7 separate regions of the Homo sapiens genome follow, and all the other regions are linked to region 3. Evidence: promoter capture Hi-C in human tissues and cell types (Jung and others, 2019). All regions are on one chromosome and are shown on one strand. Each heading gives the region's core, a stretch centred on a gene start or on the middle of the fragment in contact. The rest is flanking DNA. Distances are from core to core; before and after follow the strand shown.

Region 1 (3,280 bases), core at 571-3,070, 250 kb before region 3:
CCCCACCTTCCCAGTATTTCTCCCACCCATTCTCCAACGCATTAGTAAAATGCAAAAGAGAACAAAGTTCTTGGCTGGACATTATGGCTCATGCCTGTAATCCCAGCACTTTGGGAGGCCGAGGTAGGCCCATCACTTGAGGTCAGGAGTTTGAGACCAGTCTCACCAACATGGTGAAACCCAGTCTCTACTAAAAATATAAAAATTAGCCAAGCGTGGTAGTGGGTGCCTGTAATCCCAGCCACTGTGGAGGCTGAGGCAGGAGAATCGCTTGAACCTGGGAGGCGGAGGTTGTAGTGAGCCGAGATCGTGCCACTGCACTCCAGCCTGGGCTACAAGAGCGAAACTCCATCTCAAAAAAAAAAAAAAAAAAGAGAGAGAGAATAAAACTATTCACCCCAAAATAATAGATTTTAACCTTTCAGCCAGTTCCTTCTGACATTTCACCTCTGTATATTACTATTGTTAAATCATGGTAGAACCGAATTCTGAGGCCCAGGCCACTCTTCTAAGTGCTGCGCGGATGTGAGCTCATGTGAGGCTGCCCTAGGCCCGCACGGGCCATTCCCATCTTACAGAGGAGGTGCCAGAGGCGCAGAGAGATGGGGTAACCTGCCCAGGCCACAGAGCTGGGGACGGATGGGGCTGGGGCCTCTTACCAGACCAGCCCTGTCCAGTCTCTGTGTCACCAGCCTTGCAGGAGGGAGCCATTGGGGACCAGACTCTCTTCTTACTAAATTTTAAAATAATAGCATTTCTCCTGATCATTGAGTTTTTTTCCCATATATTCCATGTTTTTTGTTTTTGTTTTTTTTTCTTTTGAGACGAAATTTGGCTCTTGTTGCCCAGGCTGGAGTGCGATGGGGCGATCTCGGCTCACTGCAACCTCCGCCTCCTGGGTTCAAGCGATTCTCCTGTCTCAGCCTGTGGAGTAGCTGGATTATAGGCGCCCGCCACCACACCCGGCTAATTTTGTATTTTTAGTAGAGACAGGGTTTATCCATGTTGATCAGGATGGTCTCGAACTCCCGACCTCAGGCAATCCACCCACCTCAGCCTACCAAAGTGCTGGGATGACAGGTGTGAGCCACCGCACCCGGCCACTATATTCCATGTTACTCGTGTCATTTATAAACAGTGAATGCTGATAGTGGAGGAGGAGCGTGTGTTTGGGGTCATCTGCATCCTCCTCTGCCCACAGTGGAGACATCCTTGGAAGATACGATTTATCTTGTGCTTCAGAGACCATTCCCTCCCCACACCCTCTCCTAAGACTTGCTATTTAAGCAAAGTAAATGTTACAGAAAATCCATCAAAGCACTGTGAACAAAATTCCACATTGCTCTAATCATCCTTTGGTTCAATTCTCCCAGTTCCAGAGTTCAGGAATGGCGGAAAGAACACAGAGGGAGCACCCTCCCAGGGCCGGGAGCACCAGCCCTGCCATGACTTTCGGTGGCGGGGGAGAGTCTCAGCAGGGCACCTGGGCTGGGGCAGGTGGGGAAGCGGCCTATTCAGAAGCAGCAGTGGGGCAACCACAGAGCAGGAAAAAGAGCCTGGCTGGGAGTGGCGGGGGCAGGGGAGCCAGAGGGGAGGGAGCCCAGGGCTGGGGCTGGGGCAGGGGGAGGCCAGGGCTGACGCCCAGCAGAGCCACCAGGCAGGAAGGGGCAGCAGAGGGGCCCAGCGGGTAGAGCGGGCAGCGGTACCTGAAGTGAGGCTTCATCCTTGGCCGGCTAGTCCCGACTAAGATCTTTGTCTGGAGCACCAGGGTTTCACTTTCTGCTCCAGGCTCCAGGTTTCAGGACAGCCCTCCCTAAAGTGACCTCCCAGGGCCTCGTAGTCATGGCCCCTCCCCCTTCCTGCTCAGGCGCTGGTGTAGGAGGCCCTGGGACGCTTTATCTTCCTCAGTCTCTCACCCTCTTTCTGGTTTTCTCTGGGGCCCTCCCCCTGGCAGAGGGACCTCTGATAAAGACAGGCCGCTCTGTGCGGCAGGACCCAAGGCAATTGCAAAGGGAAAGAGAAAGTCATTGCAGCCAGCGCCCGCGAGGTGGGTCCACACCAGGCTGAGCCAGCAGAGCACAAGCCCCTCCCCTGGTGGTCCCGCCCAGCTGGAGCCTCCTCTCCACCATCAAGACAGACAGGCTGATGCCTCCGCAGGGACTCCCGGATCCTGCCCTCGGGGATCATCCCAGAGACGGCCCCCACCCAGCGGCCATGGGGACAGGGAGGGAGAGTAAAGGGCCAGGTGTCTGCCTCTCCCCAGGCCTTCACCCTCGGAGGCCACCGTGGGAGGGAGGGACAGCAGGTGGGTGTGGGCCTCAGATGTCCCACCGGGATGCCATGCGCGCCCCCACACTGAGCTCTTTCCTTCCTGCTTCTCCTTCTTCCCCATCTCCTGCCCGGAGTTCCTCCCTGGTGGGCTGAGCTCTCGCCTCCTCTTGTCCCCATGTCATGGAAGAGCAGTGGCTGGTGTCCCAGGCCAGCCTGTCTGGAGCCTCCCTGCGCGTCTCACAGCTCCCTTCCCCTGGTAGCGTGTTCCCATGGCGCGGTGACCTAAAAATTACACAAGGGATGCATTTGGTTTTTTTGTTTGCTTTTGTTTTTTTGTGTTTTTTTGTTTGTTTGTTTGTTTTGAGACGGAGACTTGCTCTGTTACCCAGGCTGGAGTACAGTGGCGTAATCTCAGCTCACCGCAACCTTTGCCTCCCAGGTTCAAAAGATTCTCCTGCCTCAGCCTCCCATGTAACTGCGATTACAGGCACCCACCCCTACGCCTAGGCTAATTTTTGTATTCTTAGTAGAGACAGTGTTTCTCCATGTTGGTCAGGCTTACAGCCGCCCACCACTATGCCTGGCTAATTTTTGTATTTTTAGTAGAGACAGGGTTTCTCCATGTTGGTCAGCTGATCTCGAACTCCCGATCTGAGGAGATCCGCCCGCCTTGGCGTACCAAAGTGCCGGGATTACAGGTGTGAGCCACCGCGCCTGGCCACAATGTATAAATTTGGAAAGGAGATTTTATTTCTTGTTAAGGGTGACAGGCAGCAAGGTAGCCATCCCGCAGCCTGGGAAGAGCAGCCTCTGGGAAACACCAGAGACAGACATTTAGAAGCAGGAGGGGTTGGGGCAGGAGCTTTATGCTGAAGGGGTTGGCTAAACATACATATTCAACAGGCTATAGGAGGAGCTATGAATATTCATGTGGGTGGCTGCACTCCATGCTTATTGAACAAACATGCGTGTAACATATGATCCCAGGCAGGCACAGTGGCTCACGCCT
Region 2 (3,671 bases), core at 460-2,959, 220 kb after region 3:
AAAGTGTGGTTCCAATTTTATTTTTCTTCCAGATGGTTACCTAGTTGTTCTAACACTATTCACTGAATTCATCATTTCTCCACTGATGTGAAATGCCACCTTCATGATATTCAGAGTTTTTGTATGATACGAAAGACAATTTTTTTGGTTCCGATTTTAGTGGAAAGTCTTCATGTGCACTTTTTAACTGTCCTAGAGTTTGTTGTTGTTTTAAATATCTTAAAAGTTGTCTCTAACCATCGATATGATACCCAGATAAGATTTTTCTCCTCCCTTCATGAATTTGTCATTACCCAGCTCATTTTAGTTTTTTTAAGTGTACTGCACACAACCTTCAAATATTATGAACATTTCTCTCTCCCAGCTGTCACTACACCAAACTACATATGTTATATTTCCCTAAATCATCTTGCTGTGCTCTTTGCAGCTCTTCTGTAGACTGTTGATGTCTTCACCTAACGAGTTGCTCAAAAGTTCCCATAATTATTTAGGTGAGGCCTCAGAGCGAAAGCCTTTCACCACTATCCAGTTCCTCCCCCAAATGGGCATTCATCTCCATATAACAAGGACGACTGTGTTTGGGGGAAAATAACAGATTTGGAAGCACAATGGCAGTTATTTGTTGGCTCTTAAAACAATCCACCTGTTGGGGGGGTGCGTCCTACACAAAATGCCAACTGCTATTGTGGGAATGTTTTGCTATTTATTCCACCAAAATGATTCAGACAGAAAAAACAAAAAGGATCGCCCTGTACTAGGTCTTGAACCCAAAGAACTGTTTGCACAGAGATTCATCCAAGATACATCACAGCCTCCACCTCGGCAGCTGCTCTCTCAAATGTTTCCTGACTCTCCCCAAGTCAGTCTCCGCGTGAGGGGAGGAGGAGGATGCTGCCAGCGATGGCGCTGCTGGCACGAAGGCTGGCCTGCGACTTCTATTTAAAAGCTGAACCAAAATATACTTGGCGTCTGTGGTCTATTTAAAACTTCAAGTTAAGACAGAGAAAAAATTACTCTCCATCCTGAATGGGCCTCGGGTGTCTCAATCACAGACAAGAGTGGCAAATGGTGAGAGTCAGAAAGTGGGAAATTAGGAACGCTGAGGGAGCACGGCCAAACTCTGAAGCCAGCATGAAAACCTGGAGGTGAAAAGAGAAGCCATGGGCAGCGGGGGCGGGGGGAAACGGGCCCGGATTCGACCTTCTAAGCCAAGGCTCCATCTGCAACCCTCGCGACCAAGACCTATCGCCAAAGTCAGCCACCTCTGCTCATCGCCCCTCCCCCGACTCAAGGCTACCTCCTCAGAACCCCGCCTCAGGGTCTTCTCCCGGACTTTAGCGAGGTGCTCAGCTCGAGGGACGCCCCAGCTCAACGGTCTCCCTTCAAGGCCCCGCTCCTCAGCGCGCTCCTTCCACAGCGCCCCTCCCTCCCTCCCTCCGTCATCCCAGCTCGCCACCCGCTGGGGCTCCTCTTCGTTTTCCGCGCCTCAGCCCTCGCCCCGCCCCCTCGCCCTGAGCCCCCTCCAGGCCACGCCCTCTGGTCCCCCCACCTGTGAGCCCGCTCGTTCCCCGCCCTTCGGTCTTCGCCCCGCCCCCATTGCTCCCCGCCCCTCGTCGCCCTCTGTAGGCCTGCTCCCTCCCCGCCCTTCCACCCTCACCCTGCGCCCCGCCCCGGCCCCTTGGTCCTCGCCCCGCCCTCCTCGTTTGGCGCCAAACCCTGTGGTCAACGGCGCGCGGGTCTCCAGGCTCCGTGTTCTAGGCCCGAGTTAGAATCCTGTCAGCTGAGGAGGTCGGGCGGGGCAGAGGGGCTTCACCTTGAAAATCTCGGGGAGACTGTGGGTACGAGGGGGGTAAGTGGCAAAAACGAACAGCGTGCGAAGACTCTGAGGGGACGCTCGTTTTGAGAAGGCGCGCTTCCCTTTCTCGCTCCTTTTTTGGGGTCCCTGGGCTAGTGACTTTGAGCGTTCCGCTCCGACCTTTGGGGAGGAATTTTAGTGATCTTGAGGGATTTCCAACCTCATTTTCAATCGAATCGGACCTGAGTCTAGGAGAGCCCGCCTCATCCTCCTGACCAGGGAATCCGGTGTCAGGAAAATGTCCGGCGGCCGCAGGGGGTCTGCCCAGGCCTCCTGCTGAGGGAGGCGTCGAGGGCGACCCGACCGCGCTGCTGCCCCCACCAGAGGGGACAGCTGGGTCGTCTTAAACCGGGGGATTGGGGAGCCCTACTTTCAATCCAACGGTTCAGTCTATCAACGGCTCCTTGAGAGATGGGGGACAATCTTTTCATTTCATCACGGGGAGAAGAAATGAATGCTGTTTTTCTCTTCGATGGGGACAGTAAATGTGGAATTGGGGTACTCATAGCTAGCCATCTGAAGGACAGTGTCCCCGAAGATCCCATCCGAACGGTCTCGGTTGCCTTCCATCCTTTGCCGTTTGAGGTGCTGGGTGGTAGGACCCTGCTCCTGCCTTAGTATTAATGGTTCGTTCCCTTTGTTCTAGGGTCCAACCCCTGACTTTGGTATCAAATGAGGAAATGGAATCGACCAAGAAAAATGATGATTTGGACCGCATTTTATTGTAATAAATAAACACAATCACGCCTTGTGGATTCCTGAGATTTCTTTTTGAGTCTACAATGTTAAAAACTTTAACTGCTTATCAGCCTTAATATAATATTATGATCCACCAATTTTTTTTTTTTTTTTTGAGACTGAGTCTCGCACTGTCGCCCAGGCTGGAGTGCAGTGGCATGATCTCGGCTCAGTGCAACCTCCGCCTCCCAGGTTCAAGCGATTCTCCTGCCTCAGCCTCCCAAGTAGGTGGGATTACGGGCGCCCACCACCACGCCCGGCTAATTTTTTTGTATTTTTAGTAGAGACGGGGATTGGCCAGGCTGGTCTCGAACTCCTGACCTCGTGATCTGCCTGTCTCGGCCTCCCAAAGTGCTGGGATTACAGGCATGAGCCTCCACACCCGGACCACCATATTTTTAAATCTTAAAAAAATCATGAAACTAGTAAATACTGTGAAAGAAAGTATAGCTAATGTTCTATGAAACAAAAAGGTGGATGTTACAGGAGTACCCATTCATAATCAGCAGGCAGGAAGGCATTCATCATAGATGAGAAAAATAGAATCCATTTATTGAGGACAAAGTTGGAGGTGTCAGGGAGGACACAAGGAAGAATGATATAATGTCAAGGTTCCTAGAGTATTGTTGTTAAACATAAACAAGAAAGGTTAAAAGCAATATGCAATTCTAAATAACATTCAAGGCAGTAATAAAGTCATGATTAGCTGTGCAATGGAAACCAGATGATAAGTGATCACTGTTGGGGAAAGAGAAGAAACTAAATAAGCACCCCCCAATTTGCCCCTCAGGCATCTGTGTGCATGTGGGGACACACACACACATGCACACACACACACACACACACAAGAAATAATGTCACATGTCTCGCAGAAAGAAGATAGGCTGGCCTCATCTTTCCAAGCTAAATGCTTCTCTTACTGTCCTTCTAGTCCTTGTTGACTTTGAAATGAAATCAGAGGCCCCTGGACAAAGGACTACTTCTTACATAATATTTCTTATTTTCCCAGAAGTGATTATTTTTCTGTTGCCCACTTTTCAATATGAAGGAGGATCAAGTTGTGGCGGAAGAACCAGGA
Region 3 (3,839 bases), core at 1,281-3,780:
CCAAACCCACTGTGCCTGCCTCCTGTCTACCCACTCGAAATCCAATTCACCGTCTTCACCACCAGAGTGATCTTTCCACAACACAAATGTGACCACATCTTGAAACCCTCCAACAGCTACCGTGCCTATTCTTACCTCATCCCAGGGAGCACTCAAGTCCCTGAACTTGGCATTCAAAACCCTTCTCACTACTTCCCTACTTCCCTTAGCATCTTCACCCCTATCACCTCCCACCTACACCTACATTCGCCCTCCACCCAGACCTTACGAAGCCACCCACAGTTCCCCAGTGAAGCATGCTGTCCCACCCTCAATTAGCCCCCCGGGGTCATCCTGGACTCGGCCAACTCAAGTACCACACTCTGAGAGTTAGTTACTCCCTCCTTGGAAAGAGCCAGAATCTTGCCCACACCTCTACCATAGCATTGGTAGAATGAATTATTCTATATCTATTTGTTCACATGGCTGTCTGTTCACTGGACTGTGCCTTCCATGGGATCAAGGTCCTCATCTTACTCCTCTCTGAATCACTAGCACCTGACGAGGGCTGAGCTCCCAGTAGATGCTGTAACTGCCCAATGGGTTCACCTTGCCCACTGCCTAGACAGAGCCGATGTATCAAGACAGGGGGATTGCAATGGAGAAAGGTAATTCAAACAGAGCCAGCTGTGCGGGAGAGGGGAGTTTTATTATTACTCAAATTACTCAAACAGAGGAATGCAGCGGTGAGATTTGGGTTTTGGCAGGGTCATGTTGACTATGGTACAGAGGATAAATTAGAGAGGTGCAAGACTGCAGCCAGGGAGTCCCACCAGGAGATTGCACTCAGGTAGATGGGATTGTGGTGTTGTGCACATGGAGGGTGCCATGAACGTGGCCAGAAAGGCTGTATCAGGAAATAGTGAGGAGTCGAAATTGGCATGCTTGTGACTGGAAGTGGGCTGTTGTAGTGGGAAGGGTGAAGGACTCCCCCCTGTTTTCTGATGGAGGCAACTGGGTCGGGGGTGGTGCCATTTACTGGAATGGGGAATGCAGGAAGAGCAGATTGGAGGGAGATGATCAATTCAGTTTGGGACACACTGAGTTTGAAGGGCTTGTGGAACATTCTGGTGCACATGGCTAGGAGGCAGTTGAATATGCTACCCAAGCATTCAGGGATCAGAGGTTTTAAAGATAATTTTGTGGGTAGGGGCTTGGCAAGCGAGGAGTGTTGATTGATTAAGTCGAAGATGGAATACTGAGGGGGTCGAAGTGAGGTTTTCTTGCTGTCTTCTGTTCCTGGGTGGGATCACAGAACTGTTTGAGCCACATTACTGGTCTGGGTGGTGTCAGCTGATCCATCGAGCGCAGGGTCTGCAAAATATCTCAAGCGCTGATCTTAGGTTTTACAATAGTGATGTTATCCCCAGGAGCAATTTGGGAAGGTTCAGACTCTTGCAGCCAGAGGCTGCTGTGTGACCCCTAAACCATAATTTCTAATGTTGTAGCTAATTTGTTAGTCCTACAAAGGCAGACTGGTCCCAAGGCAGGAAGGGAGCCTTTTTGGGAAAGGGCTATTGTCAATTTTGTTTCAGAGTAAAACTATAAACTAAATTCCTTCCCAAGGTTCGTTCAGCCTATGCCTAGGAATGAACAAAGACAGCTTAAAGGCTAGAAAGGCAAGATGGAGTGGGTTAGGTCTGATCTCTTTCACTGTCATAATTTCCTCAGTTATAATTTTGGCAAAGACAGCTTCAATGCTAGTAAATGTGGCAGTGGGGTTTCACCCCAAGTACTCATCACAATAATAAAGGTTTAAACTACGAAGTACCCAACTGACCCTTTGATCTACCAATCAAATAATAGAATCCGCCAGTTCTTCCCCTTTCCCCTTTTCCTTCTCCGTACTTTCGGATTAATTTTCCCTCCCAAGGGGAAGAAAAGGCAGGCTCTGGGCAACTGTGTCTGAAATTAGGTGGTACAAATGTCTCCTAGTGACTAGAGCTAGGTGACCATACAAGGGTGTGGCACAGAGGAAGGAGCCCCTGGGTTCCTTCTCCAGGGAGATTACCTCCATCCTTTACCAAGTTACTTAACCTCTCTGAACTTTAGTTCAGATGGGATGACGAATATTATCACCTAAAAGTACTGTAATGAGAATCAAGTGAGATATTAATTGTACAGCCCTACAAAAATGCTAGTTATTATCAGGCTTTTCAGATCCCAATAAAGTAGTGGCTAAGTGTCACGACACCAACAAGTTGCATTTGTTATTTCAAGTGACTAAAAGAACCTCCCAAGGCAGTACTGCTTTTCGAAGTTTGTTTCCCTAGAAAAAGAACTTCAATGTGTCCCCTGCTCCTCGGGCACGCTTAAGACAACTATAAGTGAAGTCCCGCCTCCCTGGCCTCTAAACCACGCCCCTGTCCTTGCAAACGCCTGACTTATAAGGGCCTTTCACTCTGATTGATACTTTTATCCACCAATAATAAGTGAAATTCTCGTCAACGTCCGGTGAGGGGGCAGGACTTCCTTGCTGGTTGCTAAGACACTCTTGTTTCGCTCCTTGACAACCCTGGCGGGGGTTCGCTGGCTGCGGCCCCGGCTCCGGCCCCCGCAGGAGCAGGTGAGGCCCCGGGGCGCGGCGGGCAGCCAGGCGGGGAGGGCCGGCCCGGAGGGAGGGCGGGAGGCAACGCAGGGCGGAAGAGGCCTCGCCCGCCGCCGAGGCCCCACCTCGGTCTCCTGCCTGCTGTTCCCCTGCCCCAGGTCTTCCCATCCTCAACCCCCACCCTCACCCCCACTTCGGGACCTGCGAGCTCTGTCGTGACAGGTTTGCCATCGCGACTCTGCCGGCTGCTCTTCCCCACCCACCCAAGGCCTGCCCAGCTTCGTGGTCCCGCGTCCCCCTTTAGCCGACTTCCCCCAGCACCTTGATCCCTCGACCTTTCGCGGAGTAATTCCCTCTCCCGCGGGGTCGCCATCAACTAGGTCAGACCGCTCTTGGCTTGGAGAGTTGGCGACTTACTGGGATTCTGGGCTGGTCATTTCCCCTGTTTGGGCCTCAGTTTCCCCATCTGTAAATGAGAAGTTGAGTTGAGTGATCTCTAAGGCCTCTTCCACTCTGACGTTCTAGGATGTCGTTGTTCTTTGACCCAACTTTAGGCTTCCGAGAGGATGTGCTCCCCAATGGGAGGTATCGTGTATTGTGAAAATAACTTGGCAAACCTAATTTGGATTCCCAGTCTCAAGACCTACCCTCCCTGCGCTTTTAATCAGTGCATATGTAAAATCAGTATACGTCGGTGCATCTCCTTTGGTAATTCTGAGGCTAATATGAAGTACAGAGTCCAGTCCAGTATAGATTCAGTATTTGTTAGTTTCTTTCCTTTGTCTCTTCACCACATTTTCCCTCTCTGGGAAATGTTATCAACCCGGTCAGCATGAACTGTCATTTCTCCAGTTGACCCTCTCTGATCTTCCTCCTGGGCTTCCATGGTTAGGGTTACTTAGGGGTGGGGAGGGGACAGATGGAGATTGAAATACAGTCATGTACCATATAACAACGTTTTGGTCAAGAAAGACCACAGATACCACGGTGGTGCCCTAAGGTTATAATGGAGCTGACAAATTTCTATCACCTAGTTACATAGCTATCGTAATGTCAAAGCAAAATGCATGACTCACGTGTGTGGTGATGCTGGTGTAAGCAAACCTACAGTGCTGCCAGTCATATAAAATATAGCACATACAATTGTGTACAGGACATCATACTTGATAATGGTAATAAATGACTGTTACTTGTTTATGTGTTTACTATCCTACACTTTTATTGTTATTTTACAGTGTACACTCCTCCTACT
Region 4 (3,386 bases), core at 454-2,953, 200 kb before region 3:
CCTGGCATCCTTTCCATGTGGACGTCCTGAGTCTTCCACGTCCTGAGTCTTGTCCTTGGTGTCACCTACAGTCCTAGCCAAGGACTCTCCCCACCGGCTCCCAACCACCCTTCAGCCCAAAGCCTCCCCCTGACATCCCACATGACAGCTGACCAGCCCGGTGCAGGGTCCTCATTTCCTGCAATTTCTGGCTGTTGGCAGTGGAGGGGTCAGGCTTCAAGCCTTCTCGTTGACGTTGACATGCTCAGCCAGGAAGCTGTTCACTGTCTGGGCACATTAAGGACAAGGGCTCCAGGAGATGCTCCAGGTGACCTGGTAGCACCAGTGCATGGCCAGTGGCTTTAGAATGTTCATGGAGAAGGAGAAACAAGTTTCCAGACAGTCAGATTCCTCAAGGCAGAAGAGGAGGGAAGGGGAGGGGTGGTGGTTTGGGTGACTGTGCAAGCCAGATGGGGGGTCCTCAAGCTCAGCCATTCCAGTGTGCTGCTCTCTCCTGAGAGGGAGGGAGGGAGGGAGGGAGGGAGGGAGGGAAGGAGGCAGGGAGGGAGGGAAGAAGGGAGGAAGAAAGGAAGGGAGGGAGGGAGGGAAGGAGGGAAGGAAGGGTCAAGGAAGGGAGGGAGGTGTTGTGGGAAGTCAGGGACCCCAAATGGAGGGACCAGCTGAAGCCATGACAGAAGAACGTGGATTGTGAAGATTTTATGGACATTTATTAGTTCCCCAAATTAATACTTTTGTAATTTCTTATGCCTGTCTTTACTGCAATCTCTAAACATAAATTGTAAAGATTTCATGGACACTTATCACTTCCCCAATCAATACCCTTGTGATTTCCTATGCCTGTCTTTACTTTAATCTCTTAATCCTGTCAGCCGAGGAGGATGTATTTCGCCTCAGGACCCTGTAATAATTGCATTAACTGCACAAATTGTACAGCATGTGTGTTTGAGCAATATGAAATGTGGGCACCCTGAAAAAAGAACAGGATAACAGCAATTGTTCAGGGAATAAGAGAGATAACCTTAAACTCTGACCACCGGTGAGCCGGGCAGAACAGAGCCATATTTCTCTTCTTTCAAAAGCAAATGGGAGAAATATCGCTGAATTCTTTTTCTCAGCAAGGAACATCCCTGAGAAAGAGAATGCGCACCTAGGGGTAGGTCTCTGAACTGGCCCCCCCAGGGCGTACCTGTCTCTTATGGTCGAGATTACAGAGGTGAGATAGACTCCAGTCTCCCATAGCGCTCCCAGGCTTATTAGGAAGAGGAAATTCCCGCCTACTAAATTTTGGTCAGACGGGTTGCTCTTAAAACCCTGTCTCCTGATAAGATGTTATCAATGACAATGGTGCCCGAAACTTCATTAGCAATTTTAATTTTGCCTCAGTCCTGAGGTCCTGTGATCTCGCCCTGCCTCCACTTGCCTTGTGATATTCTATTACCCTGTTAAGTACTTGATGTCTGTGACCCACACCTATTCACACACTCCCTCCCCTTTTGAAAATCCCTAATAAAAACTTGCTGGTTTTTGCGGCTTGTGAGGCATCACGGATCCTACCAACATGTGATGTCTCCCCCGGAAGCCCAGCTTTAAAATTTCTCTCTTTTGTACTCTGTCCCTTTATTTCTCAAGCCAGCCGACACTTAAGAAAATAGAAAAGAACCTACATGATTATCGGACCAGGTCCCCTGATAGGGAGGGAAGGAGGGAAGGGTGAAGGAAGGAAGGGAGGGAGGGAGGGAGATAGGGAGGGAAGGAAGGAAGGAGGGAGGGAGGGAGGGAAGGTGGGAGGGAGAGAGGGAGGGAAGGAAGGAAGAGTCAATGAAGGGAGGGAGGGAAGGAAGGAAGGGTCAATGAAGGGAGGGAGGGAAGGAAGGAAGAAAGGAAGGAAGGGAAGGAGGGAGGGAGAGAGGGAGGGAAGGAAGGGTCAATGAAGGGAGGGAAGGAAGGGAGGGAGGGAGGGAGGGAAGGGGGGAGGCAAGGAAGGACAACTGGTTCATTCATATACTAGTTCCTTCATTCCTTCAACAGTAACCCAAGAGCACCCACTCAGGGCCACGGCTCAGGCAGGAACCTGGGATGCAAGGATGGATGGCACATGGTCCTCCCTCCAGGAGATCACAGTGTAGGGAAATCAACGAGGACCCATAGTGAGCCCCTCCATCCCACGTACCCCCTCCTCTATCCACTTGTGGGCACTGCAGCCTGGACTTCTGCATCAGCAGCTGTGTGGAGGTCTGTTACCCTGAGATCTGCAGCCAGGACAGGGGGCTGTGCCCAGGAACAAGGTAGGTCAAAGGGAGGTGGGAGAGCCCAGGCGGGTGGGCGCAGCATGGGAGGGTGTGTTGCAGGAGGCTGTGGTGGCTGCTCTGCTCCAGTGACCAGAGGGAATGGCTCTAGCTACCTGGTGGGCTGGTGTTGGGCACACGAGGCATTGTCGGGGGGGCTATGATCGTGTGTAGGTCCCTCCCAGAGGGCCCCAGGCCCTGGGTTTCCATCTTTGTGGCTTCCATGCAACTGCGTTGTGCAATGTGTTTGGTCTGAGCCTGATGGGAGGAAGAAAGCTGGTCTTGTGGGGGGCTCCCCTTTCCCTACCAATCTGGGATTCCTGTGTCCATCCCCAGCTAACACCTGGTTGTGAAGGACACTGGTGTCCAGCAGGACAGGGTGTCACCATCTGATCACTCTACATGGTAGGATAGGCAAGTCTCCCCTCGCCCTTTGGCCAGCTGTAGGTTTTCATAGTTAAAGTTGAAGTCCAGGTCAGGCGCGGTGGCTCACACTTGTAATCCCAGCACTTTGGGAGGCTGAGGCGGGCAGATCACCTGAGGCCAGGAGTTCGAGACCTGCCTGGCCAACACGGTGAAACCCCATCTACTAAAATACAAAAATTAGCCGGGCATGGTGGTTCGTACCTGTAATCCCAGCTACTCAGGAGGCTGAGGCAGGAGAATCGCTCGAACTCGGGAGGCAGAGGTTGCAGTGAGCTGAGATGGTGCCATTGCACTCCAGCGGGGGTGACAGAGTGAGACTCTCTCAAAAAACAAAAACAAACAAACAAAAAAAAGTTGAAGTCCTTTGGAGACATCTGGCATCCAGAGGTCAGAGGGGAGATGAAAGGAAGACACAGACGGGTGCCCTGCAGCCCTGGCAGGCACTTGTTCATCTCTGAGGCCCCGACCACCTGGGATGAGCCTGGAAAGCTTTTTGCTTTCTTTGCTGGTGGTCTCCAGGACCTTCTGCCCCGAATCCAGCCTAGTCCACGAGGCCACATCTCATTTTTCCTTGTGTAGAGTCAGGGATGGGGTCACTTCTCAGCCCCAGGAACGGTGCCTTCCCTCCCTCAGGCCCTCCTCTTTGTGATGACCACCCCAAATCTCCCTGTCCTT
Region 5 (3,606 bases), core at 816-3,315, 220 kb before region 3:
AGGCTGAGGCAGGAGAATGGCGTGAACCCGGGAGGCGGAGCTTGCAGTGAGCTGAGATTGTGCCACTGCACTCCAGCCTGGGCGATAGAGCAAGACTCCGTCTCAAAATAAATAAATAAATAAATAAATAATGTGGGGAGGAGGCCAGGGGCATGGTGTCTCACGCATGTAATCCTAGCACTTTGGGAGGCCAAGGCTGGTGGATCACTTGAGGTCAGGAGTTCGAAACCAGCCTGGCCAACATGGCAAAATCCTGTTTCTACTAAAAATACAAAAGAATTGGCTGGGCATGGTGGCAGGTGCCTGTAATCCCAGCTACTCGGGAGACTGAGGCAGGAGAATCGCGTGAACCTGGAAAGCAGAGGTTGCCGTGAGCTGAAATCAGACCACTGCATTCCAGCCTGGGTGACAGAGCGAGACTCCATCTCAAAAAAAAAAAAAAAAAAATAGAAATGTGGCAGGAAAGTGCACACAGGAGAGCCCACGCCGGGCACATCACTTATTGTTGCGTTTTCTGCATTCCCAGCTGCTTAGCTCCTATTTAGGGTGTAACTAGGACTTTGGTGCTACCTGGTTTCGGAAGACGCCCGTCTTCCAGGAGACAACTGAGCGGCGCTTTATACCTTCCACGGTGAAGCACAGCCAAGTTTCGTTCCGATCGTTGGCTTCCCATAGGTTTTTAAATTGGAAGTAGAATGTGCCTGGATACATTGCCTTCATCGGGTTTCTGAAGGCACAAGAGAGAAACCCCAATGCAGAGACCCCCGCACCGGAGTCCTCAGGGCTGATGCCCACTGAACACAGCTGCCTGGACGTCCCTGGGCTCTGGGCCTCCCCCATCCCTCCACAGCCCTGAGAATGTCTGCTGCTTTCCCAGGCAGGAAGACGGGGAGAGAGAAAGAGGAGGGGACGCTGGCAGGGGCAGCAGGGCCGGGGTGACCTCTCCTAGCTGGAACCCCAGCTCTGGGGCTACCAATGGAACACCCTCAACCTCCCAGTTTTTCTGCTACTTTTTTTTTTTTTTTTTTAAAGACGGCATCTCGCTCTGTCCCCCAGGCTGGAGTTTGCAATCTCAGCTCACTGCAACCTCCACCCCTCGGGTTCAAGGGATTCTCCTGCCTCAGCCTCCCAAGTAGCTGGGATTACAGACGCCCGCCAGCACCCCTGGCTAATTTTCTGTATTTTCAGTAGAGACGAGGTTTCACCATGTTAGTCAGGCTGGTCTCAAACTCCTGACCACAAGTGACCCGCCCGCCTCAGCCTCCCAAAGTGCTAGGATTACAGGCATAAGCCACCGTGCCTGGCCTAAAATAAGAGCATTTCTCCTGATCATCATATTTTTTCCTACACTCCATGTTGCAGGTGTCATTCTGAAAGGTGAACGGTGCTCACAGAGGAGGAGCCTGTGTCTGGGGTCGTGTGCATCCTACTCTGCTCACAGTGGAGGCATCTTTGGAAGAAGTGACTTATTTTCTGGTACAGAGACCATTCCCTCCCCCACACCCTCTCCTAAGACTTTGTATTGAAACAAAGTAAATCTTACAGAAATTGCACCAAAGCGCTGAGAACAAAATGCCTGATTGCTCAAATCATCCTTTGGTTCAATTCTCCCAGTTCCAGAGCTCCCAGGAATAGTGGGAAGCACACAGAGGAAGCACCCTCCCAGGGCGGGAAGCACCAGCCCGGGCATGATTTTCGGGGGAGAGTCTCAGCAGGCGGACTGGGCTGGGGCAAGTGGGGAAGGTGGCCCATTCAGAAGCAGCAGTCGTGGGACCACACAGCAGGGCAAGGAGCTTGGCTGGGAGTGGGGGCAGCGGGGGAACCAGGGGGGAGGGAGCCCAGAGGTGGGGCTGGGGCAGGGGGAGGCCAGGGCTGAGGCCCAGCAGGACCGCCTGGCAGGAAGTGGCAGGAGGGGCCTGGCGGACAAAGCGTGCAGAGGTACCTGATCTGTGGATTCATGTTCAGCCTCTTAGATATGCTTGTCCCTGTCCCACTCTTTTCTGAAGCGCTGTGGCTTCTCTTCCTGCTTACAGCGTCCTTGCAGTTGAGCAGCCCTCTTTAAAGTGACCTCCCAGGGCCTTGTGAATCATGGCCCCTCCCCATTCCTGCTCAGGCACTGGTGTGGGAGGCCCCGGGGTGCTTCATGTTTCTCTGGCTCTGGCCCTCTTTCTGGTTTTCTCCGGGCCCCTCCTACTGGCAGAGGAACCTCCGATAAAGACAGGCTGCTCTGTCTTTATCTGTCCTGGGCAGGACCCAACGGAACTGCAAAAAGAAGAGAAAGAGAAAGAGAAAGGCATTGCAGCCTGAGCCTGGGACGCGGGTCCAGACCCAGCTGAGAGAGGGGCAGGTGCCCCGTTGCCTGGTGGTTGGGCAGGCTGGAGCCCCCTCTCCACCACCCCCTCCCCAGCCCTAATGTGTGCCCAGAGCTTTGAGCAGCACCACCCTGTTGAGTGAGGGGAGGTTTTGAGACCCCAGTGGGGAAGGAAGTGTGGACTCCGCACAGCACAAGCGAAGGCTTAGGTGTGCCTCGAGTTCCCAGCTGTGTGCTGAGTCCATCGCACGCATCCCCTCTTCCAACCTCCCAGCTTCCAGAAGGTGGGGGGCAGTTCAGCCCCTCAGAGATGTGGGCGGAGGATTACCTAGGTGCTGAGGCAAGAGACTGAAGGCACAAACTGTTTCAGTATAATAAAGAATATACTTACAATAAGAATAGTTATAATACAAATTAGATACAGAGATGATCATGGACATTATCAATCATTAGTGTAGATATTATTAATCATTAGCTTTTAATATTACTCTTTATTGTATTACTAATATAACCAAGAAATAACCGGTGGGTATAGGGTCAGGTGCTGAAGGGCTGTTGTGAGAAGTGACCGAGAATGCAAGAGGTGAGCCCTCTGTCACACCCGCATAAGGGCTACTGGAGGGCTCCTTGGTCAGGCGGTAACGCCAGTGCCTAGGAAGGCATCGTTACTTAGCGGACCACGAAAGGGAGTCTCCCTTTTCTTGGAGGAGTCAGGGAACGCTCAGCTCCACCAGCTTCTTGTGGGAGGCTGGATAGTATCCAGGCCTGCCTGCAGCCATCCGGAGGCCTAAACCCCTCCCTGTGATGCTGTGCTTCAATGGTCACGCTCCTTGTCCACTTTCCTCCTGTACTCCTGGTCCCTCTTTGAAGTTCTCAGAAGATAGCGGTAGAAGAAATAGTGAAAGTCTTAAAGTCTTTGATCTTTCTGATAGGTGCATAGAAGAAAACGCTGACGTATACTGCCTTCCCTCTCTGCTTCGGCTACCTATAAGGGAAGGGCCCCCTGTCCTATGATCACGTGACTTGCTCGACCTTATCAATCACTTGGACGACTCACCCTCCTTACCCTGCCCCCCTTGTCTTGTATGCAATAAATAACAGTGCACGCAACCATTTGGGGCCACTACCCATCTCCGTGTCTTGATGGTAGTGGTCCCCCGGGCCCAGCTGTTTTCGCTTTATCTCTTTGTCTTGTGTCTTTACTTTTTACGATTTCTCATCTCCACACACGGGGAGAACACCCACTAAGCCCCATAGGGCCAGACCCTACATCAGGGACTGCGATGTCTGCGACA
Region 6 (3,799 bases), core at 981-3,480, 150 kb before region 3:
GGCAGGGACCCAGAGGGAAGGAGACCAGAAAAGGGGAAGGAAGAGGCCATCTCAAAGGCAAAAGCAGAGAAGACACCTTCAGGGAGGGAGGGTGAGTCGGGGAGGAGAGAGGCTTAAGAACCAGAGAAAAAAACTGCTTGGAGCCAGGTGTCGCCGATAGGGGGCTGTGGCGCCTCTGTCTCCCCACAGCACATTCCCTCTGCTTCCTGTTTCCTGGAATCTTGTATCACCTTCTCTATCCATTAGGGATCTTCGGTTTCAAGCAAAAGAAGTGGACCATAGCTAACGAGAAACGTAACAGAGCTCACGGGGTTGAAGGGTAAATTACAGAATCTGGGCTCAGGAAGCACAAGAACGAGTGACAGTGCAGGGTCCAGGAGCAGGAACCCATGCACAGCCCTGGAGGTCTCAACCACTGGGATCCACATTGCTCTGACCGTGTTTTCTGGTTTTGTCTTATTTTGTTCAGAGTCAGAGCTCCAGGGGAGTCAGATTGGGTTTGGGTTCTGAACTGGCCCTAGTCCTGGAGAGGGCAGGGGCCTGGGTTGTCTTGTCCACAAATCAATCAAGATGACAATCAAAGGAGAGGCGGTTCCCCAAAGGCAGCAGAGGAAGGGATGCTGGGCAGGCGAGTCCAACCCAGAGCAGCTACACAGCCAGGTGCTGTGGAGTGGTCAGTGCTGCCCTGGTCTCACCCGGAGCTTCTGTTTCATCTCCCCACAGCACGTTCCTTCTGTTTCCTGTTTCCTGGAATCTTGGATCACCTTCTTTACCTATTAGAGATCTTTGGTTGCAAGCAAAAGAAACTAACCATGGCTACCTAGAAACGTGGGGGAAGCTGGGTGCGCTGGCTCACACCTGTAATCCCAGCACTTTGGGAGGCCAAGGCAGGTGGATCACCTGAGGTCAAGAGTTCAAGACCAGCCTGGCCAACATGGCAAAAGCCCGTCTCTACTAAAAATACAAAAATTAGCCAGGTGTGGTGGCAGGCACCTGTAATCCCAGCTACTTGGGAGGCTGAGGCAGGAGAATCACTTGAACCCAGGAGGCGAAGGTTGTAGTGAGCTGAGATCGTGGCACTGCACTCCAGCCTGGGTGACAAAAGTGAGACTCCATCTCAAAAAAAAGGAAACATGGGGGGCGGCTCACAGAGTGGAAAGGTTAACCCTTTTCTACACTGGACAGACAGAAAAGGTTGAAGAGTTAACACCTTTCCACACTCTACAGCCATGGTCCAAGGAGGAGGCCAACAAGATCATGGCACGATTGTAAGCATCATCGGTGGAAAATCAAAAAGGTGGAACCATTTGGCTGCCACATGAAGAAGATGTTTTTTGGAACGGCATTAAGACAGGAAGATTCGGGAGAGGTAAGTCATCATGACCGAGGTTGGTGAGATGCACGTTCCTATAAGTACGGTGATGTAAACCCCAAAGACTGGGTTTTCAACATTTAGATTCAATCTATAGACAGGACATGGGAGGCTGAGATATGTTCACAAAATTAATATAAACATTCTCAACCTTAATAATGTGAAGGCGAAAGTGAAAGAGGTCAAGATGGAATGAGGAGGGAGGCTGGAAGAGGAGTGAGGGAAGTGTCAGCGGCTGATTCACAAGGTTGAGTCAAGTGATTCTGCTTCTTGTTGAGTTTCAGCAAGCACTTGAAGCTGTGGGCGTTTGCCCACGGGGGACCTGAGGGCACTGATGCAACTACATGAGGAGGGGAGAGGAGGGGAGGGGAAGTTCTGGAGAATTATAAGAGCGAAACTCTCATATTCGCGGAGGGAAGGCAGTAGATACCATCAAGAGCTAGTAAATCAAGAAATAGTGGTTCCCCGAGGAAACCACCCAAGGAACTAAAACCAGAGGGTCAGTATGACTGACTCCGAAAACCGGAAGCAGCCTAGAGGAGAAAATCCTCTGCGCCGTGTTCCCTTCTCCAGGATGTTGTCTTAACTAGTGTGTGTTATATCAACAACTTTTAACCTCATCCACAATGTGAAATAAAACGATACTATAACCAGGAATTAGTAAGAAAAGCACAGACTTTCATCAGAAAGCACCATTAAGGGAGTAAGGGAGTGAAAAGGCCTATCATAGACTCGGAAAAGATGTCTGCACTATATCTACCTAACAAAGAGTTTATCTCCCAAATATATAAGGAGCTCCAGAAAATCAGTAAGAAAAAGAGCCCATTATAAAATGGGCCAAAATCTTGAAGGAGCAGCTTACAAAAGTGGATATCAAAATGGCCTGTGAACCCATGAAAATGTGGTCAACCTCATTAATCATCAGAGAAATGTAAAGTAAAACCACAGTGAGATACCACTAGCCCCTCCCCACCAGGATGGCTAAAATCCAAAAGACTGACAACATCAAATATTGTCAAGGATGGAACTCTTTTACATTGCTGATGGTAGCATAAAAGGGGCAGCATAGAATGTTTAGTTGCAGCTACTAAAGCGAAACAAGCATCTACTCCATGACTTAGCAATGCCACTCCTAGGTATTATAATATCCAACTGAAATAGATGCTATGTCCACCAAAAGGCTGCATAAGAACGTTCACAGTCTGGGCGCGGTGGCTCACGCCTGTAATCCCAGCGCTTTGGAATGCTGAGGGAGGCAGATCACCAGAGGTCAGGAGTTTGAGACCAGCCTGGCCAACATGGCAAAACTCCATCTCTGCTAAAAAGAAGTACAAAAATTAGCCAGGCGTGTTGGCATGCACCTGTAATTCCAGCTACTCGGGAGGCTGAGTCAGGAGAATCCCTTGAACCCAGGAGGTGGAGGTTGCAATGAGCAGAGATGGTGCCACTGCACTCCAGCCTGGGCAACAGAACGAGACTCTCAAAAAAAAAAAAAAAAAGAACGTTCATTTCGCTTTATTCATGACAGCCAAAAACTCGAAATAACTCGGTCTGTCCAGCAACAATGGCATATATTAAAATATATTATAATATATAAAATTATTTTAATATATAAATTATATACAATGTAATTTTAATATATTATAATTTAAAATATATATTAAAATATATTGTGAATATGTTATACATGGTAAATATATTGTACTCTCTCCATCAATGGAATACTACACAGCAATAAAAATGAATGAACTCCTGGCATATAAAGCATCAGTGAACCCCACAAAAGTAATATTGAACAAAAGAAGTCACACATAAAAGAATTCATACTGTGTAATTTCTATGAAGTTCAAAAACAGGCAAAATTAATCTATGATAATAGAAGTCAGAACACCAGTTTCCAGTGGAGGGGGAACAAATCGAATGACATGCATGAGCCACCTGAGATTCTGGAGAAAGCCTCCACCCCATCTGGCCGGTGGTTACATCAACTGCAAACCTAAGCTTTTGCAATTAACTCTAAGTTATACTCCAATACAAACATTTTTGAAAGAAAACAAAGTTTCAAAGCCTGTATTTTGAAAGAAGGGAACAGTTTTACTAACGGACATAAAATATCCCAAATACACTGATAGACAGAAATACAACACAAATGCAAATAGAATCACCATGACTGCTCTTAGCTTTCTTTCTTTTTTTAAAATAGTAAACGGGTTATTTAAGTCCAAGTGACAGAATAATTGTGATTGAAGGAAATGAGGGGGTACTTACAATATATCAGAAACTAGGGAAGCTGACTTGGCATGGTGGTTCACGCTTGTAATCTCAGCACTTTGAGAGGCCGAGGCGGGGGAATCACCTGAGGTCAGGAGTTTGAGACCAGCCTGGCCAACATGGTGAAACCCTGTCTCTACTAAAAATACAAAAATT
Region 7 (3,515 bases), core at 425-2,924, 180 kb before region 3:
TGCGTTTGAGCACCTGGGTAGAGACCTACCTGGCTGGGTCAACCCCAGCTTGGCTTTGCAACCTCTAACTGCAATAGTCCATTTCCTCATCTGAACAGGGAAGGTGAAAATGATGGCTCCTCACTGTGGGGTTGGGCGCAAGGGTTCAATGAGCGCTCCCATTCAGGTGTAAGGTTTAAATGAGCCGCTCCCCTTCAGGCATAAGGAACGGAGCCTGGTGGGTGGTCAGTACTCAGTAGATGTTGCTTATTTTCACTTTTTTCTGCTTCTGTTTGAGTCCTTAAAGTTTACAGCAAGGGGAGTCATAACACCCAGTGCCAGCTCCCTGTTTAGGGCTATGCACACTCAAGCACCGTAGCACTCGGCAAACATGGGCTGACAGCCTGCGTGTCCTCCCAAAGGTAGAAACAGCAGGGCTTAGGAACAGGGGAGCTGGGAGCACTAAAGGTGACTGCAGAGTCCAGCCCAGGAGACTGGGGGTGTCCAGCTGGAGAAGGCGATTTGGGGTCATAAGTGACCAACATTGAGACTCGGCACCCAGTCCGAGGGAGGATGGGGCCAGGGCAGAAGGCCCAGAGAGAGGAGATGCCGTCCAGCCAGGAGGAGGACGCTCACATTCACGGGAGCTCCAGAGGAGGGAGGCAGAGTAAAGAAGCGACCACAGTGCCAGATGCTGTAGGGGGCTGTGCACGGCCTTGGCCTGGCCTCTATATTTCTCCTCCTCGAGTTCTGTTTCTCTTATCTTTACTATTTGAGGCCACACCTGGCATGATGCTCTTCAGGGTCTCTGTCAACGGAGCGCCCGTCCAGAGGGCAGAACTGGGGAAGCCAGTATCACCCTTCCCTGACTCCGGGACACGTGAGGTGCAGATCTGGGCTCTGCCCAGAAGCCATGAAAGCCAATCTGATACTAGCCTTGGTTTCCTGGACTGGGACAGACTCACCTACATCCCTGCAGTCTTAGGGCATGTTATCCAGGTGACGCCACTCTGGGTGGCAAAGACAAAACCCAAAAAGCAAGGGCAGGCCGGGCGCGGCGGCTCACACTTGTAATCCCAGCACTTTGGGAGGCCAAGGTGGGCAGATCACTTAAGGTCAGAAGTTTGAGACCAGCCTGGCCAACAAGGTGAAACCCCATCTCTACCAAAAATATAAAAAATTAGCTGGGTGTGGTGGCGTGCACCTGTAATCCCAGCTACTCAGGAGGATGAGACAAGAGAATCATTTGAACCCGGGAGGTAGAGGTTGCAGTGAGCTGAGTTGGTGCCACTGCACTCTAGTCTGAGTGGCAGAGCAAGACTCTGTCTCAAAAAAACCAAACCAAACCAAAAACCAAAAAACAAAAAACAAAAAAAACAAGCAAGGGCAGGTGCAGCCCAGCCCCATCCCTGTGTTTCTCAGCACCTGGCCCAGGCTCTGCAAGGCACGGACTCCTGGGTGACAAAGTGGAGCTTCAGGGTCTCCTCCAGTGTGGCCTGGGGGTCCTGCAACCTGACTTTCACGGGACCCTGCCGAGGAAAGGGACAAAGGTTTATGCCGCATGCCTCTGCTGCATGCTCGCCCTCTAGAGGGTGTGACCTGAACAGCACACTTGAGAAGTTGAATTTTTCTCACCTTCCTACAGTTGAGGAGTGGGACTGTCAAGGCAAAGCAGCCTGGGTGGTGACAGCAGGCTTTGGTAAAAAGGTTCTCTCTGCCCTGGATCCTGGGTCCAGGTTCTATTCTGGTGTTACTGAGGGTCCTAGCGAGCTTGCACCGGAACTCCTTGCCTTGTCCCGTCTGCATGACTCTTGATGACCTACTTCGATATGGAGGGGTGTGCCCTACCTTGAGCTTGGCCCCAGCGTCCCCCTGTATGGAGCCTCCACCTGTTCTCCCTTTCCCAGGCCCCCCAGGCCCATCCCCTGCCTGCTAATAGTCCTTGCTCCTAGAGAAAACAGGCCCTGCAGAGGCCCCGGGTTGGATATGCTCACGTAGAAAATGTTCACTTGAGACCTTATTCGTCTGATCTTCCCTTGCTTGGGTGACTCTAACAAATGTCGACTTTTTTTTTTTTTGAGACAAAATCTCACTCTGTTGCCCAAGCTGGAGTGCAGTGGCACGATCACCGCTCACTGCAGCCTCAACCTCCGGAGCTCAAGGCATCTTCTCTCCTCAGCTTCCCACATAACTGAGACTACAGGCTCACGCCACCACACCTGGCTAATTTTTTTGTATTTTTTGTAGAGGTGGTCTCACCATGTTGTCCAGGCTGGTCTCAAACTCCTGGAATCAAGCCATCTGCCTGCCTCAGCCTCCCAAAGTGCTGGGATTACAGGTATGAGCCACCGTGGCTGGCCAAAGGTGGATTTTTCATCATTTTTCTCTAAGGGCTTGGGCTGGTGTGGTGGGGGTGCAGTGTACGCCTCACGCTTCCTCCGGTCTGTTTTTACAACCCTTTGCCATGAGATTTTGACACTCTTCTCATCAAGGGATGCAGTCTATTTTTTTGTCCCCTTCCATCTGGGCTGGTCTGTGACTTGCATTGGCCAATAAAATGCAGTAGAAATGATGTCATGTGATTTCCTTGGCTGGGCTTTGAGTAGCCTTGTAGGTTTCATTTTTTGCATATCTAGGACTTGCTCACCTACATGCAAGGAAAACAGACTTGTAGTCCTAAATGCTGCGAGACCAGGTGGAGAGAGGAAACACCCCAGCTGACAGCCTGCCCAAGCCTCCAGGCATGTGATGAAGGCCCCCTGGATATTCAGCCCCATCTAGCGATTCCCTTTTTTTTTTTTTTTTTTTTTGAGATGGAGTTTCTCTCATGTTGCCCAAGCTGGAGTGCAATGGCGCAATCTCGGCTCACTGCAACCTCCACCTCCCGGGTTCAAGCGATTCTCCTGCCTCAGCCTTCCGAGTAGCTAGGATTATAGACACCCGCCACCACACCCAGGTAATTTTTGTATTTTTTAGTAGAGACAGGGTTTCACTATGTTGGCCAGGCTGGTCTTGAACTCCTGACCTCAGATAATCCACCTGCCTCACCCTCCCAAAGTGCTGAGATTACAGGCCTGAGCCACCGAGCCCAGCTGGAGATCACTTGTGTTTTAGAGCACAGATCTCTGAACCTGAGGCAACTCACCCCCACAAAACAAACTGAAGGTGCCCTGTCTATACCTGGGATTGATTTAGATGACAGGATCTTGGATGTGATGTCTGAACATGATTCCATATTGGGGTGATACTTTGTGGCTGTTGGGAATGGGTGGGTTATTTTCAAGTGGGTGGAGTAAGATGCATTGGCACACAGGGAAGACTGATAAACTGTCATGTTGGCGATCCCCAGTGAAACACACCCCCTGATATTCACATCCTTGTGACTGGCTTCCCACACAACACACAGACACACACAAACACACACACACATACACGTATATTTTCTTTTTGAAAAGCATCTCGCTCTGTCACCTAGGCTGGAGTGCAGTGGTACCATCATGGCTCACTGCAACCTCCACCTTCTGGGCTCAAATTCT

What was found. The method cuts DNA at HindIII sites, captures the fragments that hold promoters and counts their contacts. A contact is called where the count stands out against the background at its distance.
Region 1: a contact is called between the fragment with the promoter of APOBEC3F here and the fragment with the promoter of DNAL4 in region 3, in 4 of the 25 tissues and cell types used here (IMR-90 fibroblasts, aorta, mesenchymal stem cells and 1 more).
Region 2: a contact is called between the fragment with the promoter of DMC1 here and the fragment with the promoter of DNAL4 in region 3, in 1 of the 25 tissues and cell types used here (bladder).
Region 4: a fragment that was not itself captured here is called in contact with the fragment with the promoter of DNAL4 in region 3 in 4 of the 25 tissues and cell types used here (IMR-90 fibroblasts, heart left ventricle, lymphoblastoid cells and 1 more).
Region 5: the fragment with the promoter of APOBEC3C here is called in contact with the fragment with the promoter of DNAL4 in region 3 in 2 of the 25 tissues and cell types used here (mesenchymal stem cells and spleen).
Region 6: a fragment that was not itself captured here is called in contact with the fragment with the promoter of DNAL4 in region 3 in 2 of the 25 tissues and cell types used here (lymphoblastoid cells and thymus).
Region 7: a contact is called between a fragment that was not itself captured here and the fragment with the promoter of DNAL4 in region 3, in 3 of the 25 tissues and cell types used here (lymphoblastoid cells, small bowel and spleen).

Annotation. Positions count from the first base shown.
Region 1 is chr22:39,039,404-39,042,683 of GRCh38, reverse strand. APOBEC3F (apolipoprotein B mRNA editing enzyme catalytic subunit 3F) reads right to left here and starts at 1,820. Exons shown (of 7, transcript NM_145298.6): 1 at 1,707-1,820. The coding sequence starts at 1,723. RefSeq lists enhancers at 121-898, 1,951-2,010. The HindIII fragment of the contact is 19,854 bases long and covers 1-3,280 here.
Region 2 is chr22:38,568,221-38,571,891 of GRCh38, reverse strand. It overlaps DMC1 (DNA meiotic recombinase 1), which reads left to right and starts at 1,709. Exons shown (of 14, transcript NM_007068.4): 1 at 1,709-1,849; 2 at 3,603-3,671. The coding sequence starts at 3,636. LOC105373031 (a long non-coding RNA gene) reads right to left here and starts at 1,392. Exons shown (of 2, transcript NR_134627.1): 1 at 1,298-1,392; 2 at 534-1,139. RefSeq lists enhancers at 974-1,023, 610-1,120 and a silencer at 1,424-1,713. The HindIII fragment of the contact is 22,042 bases long and covers 1-3,671 here.
Region 3 is chr22:38,792,834-38,796,672 of GRCh38, reverse strand. It overlaps DNAL4 (dynein axonemal light chain 4), which reads left to right and starts at 2,530. Exons shown (of 4, transcript NM_005740.3): 1 at 2,530-2,605. RefSeq lists a silencer at 2,339-2,788. The HindIII fragment of the contact is 13,707 bases long and covers 1-3,839 here.
Region 4 is chr22:38,996,380-38,999,765 of GRCh38, reverse strand. APOBEC3B-AS1 (APOBEC3B antisense RNA 1) reads left to right here and starts at 1,546. Exons shown (of 5, transcript NR_104187.1): 1 at 1,546-1,680; 2 at 2,029-2,285. RefSeq lists an enhancer at 1,041-1,681. The HindIII fragment of the contact is 5,994 bases long and covers 1-3,386 here.
Region 5 is chr22:39,012,716-39,016,321 of GRCh38, reverse strand. It overlaps APOBEC3C (apolipoprotein B mRNA editing enzyme catalytic subunit 3C), which reads right to left and starts at 2,065. Exons shown (of 4, transcript NM_014508.3): 1 at 1,943-2,065; 2 at 571-727. The coding sequence starts at 1,959. RefSeq lists a silencer at 1,775-1,824 and enhancers at 1,935-2,044, 1,617-2,234, 1,964-2,258, 2,235-2,853. The HindIII fragment of the contact is 14,453 bases long and covers 1-3,606 here.
Region 6 is chr22:38,939,708-38,943,506 of GRCh38, reverse strand. No RefSeq gene overlaps it. Among named protein-coding and RNA genes, the nearest start is that of APOBEC3A, 16 kb to the left of the region's middle. The HindIII fragment of the contact is 9,821 bases long and covers 1-3,799 here.
Region 7 is chr22:38,971,810-38,975,324 of GRCh38, reverse strand. No RefSeq gene overlaps it. Among named protein-coding and RNA genes, the nearest start is that of APOBEC3B, 8.8 kb to the left of the region's middle. RefSeq lists an enhancer at 374-1,151. The HindIII fragment of the contact is 5,438 bases long and covers 1-3,515 here.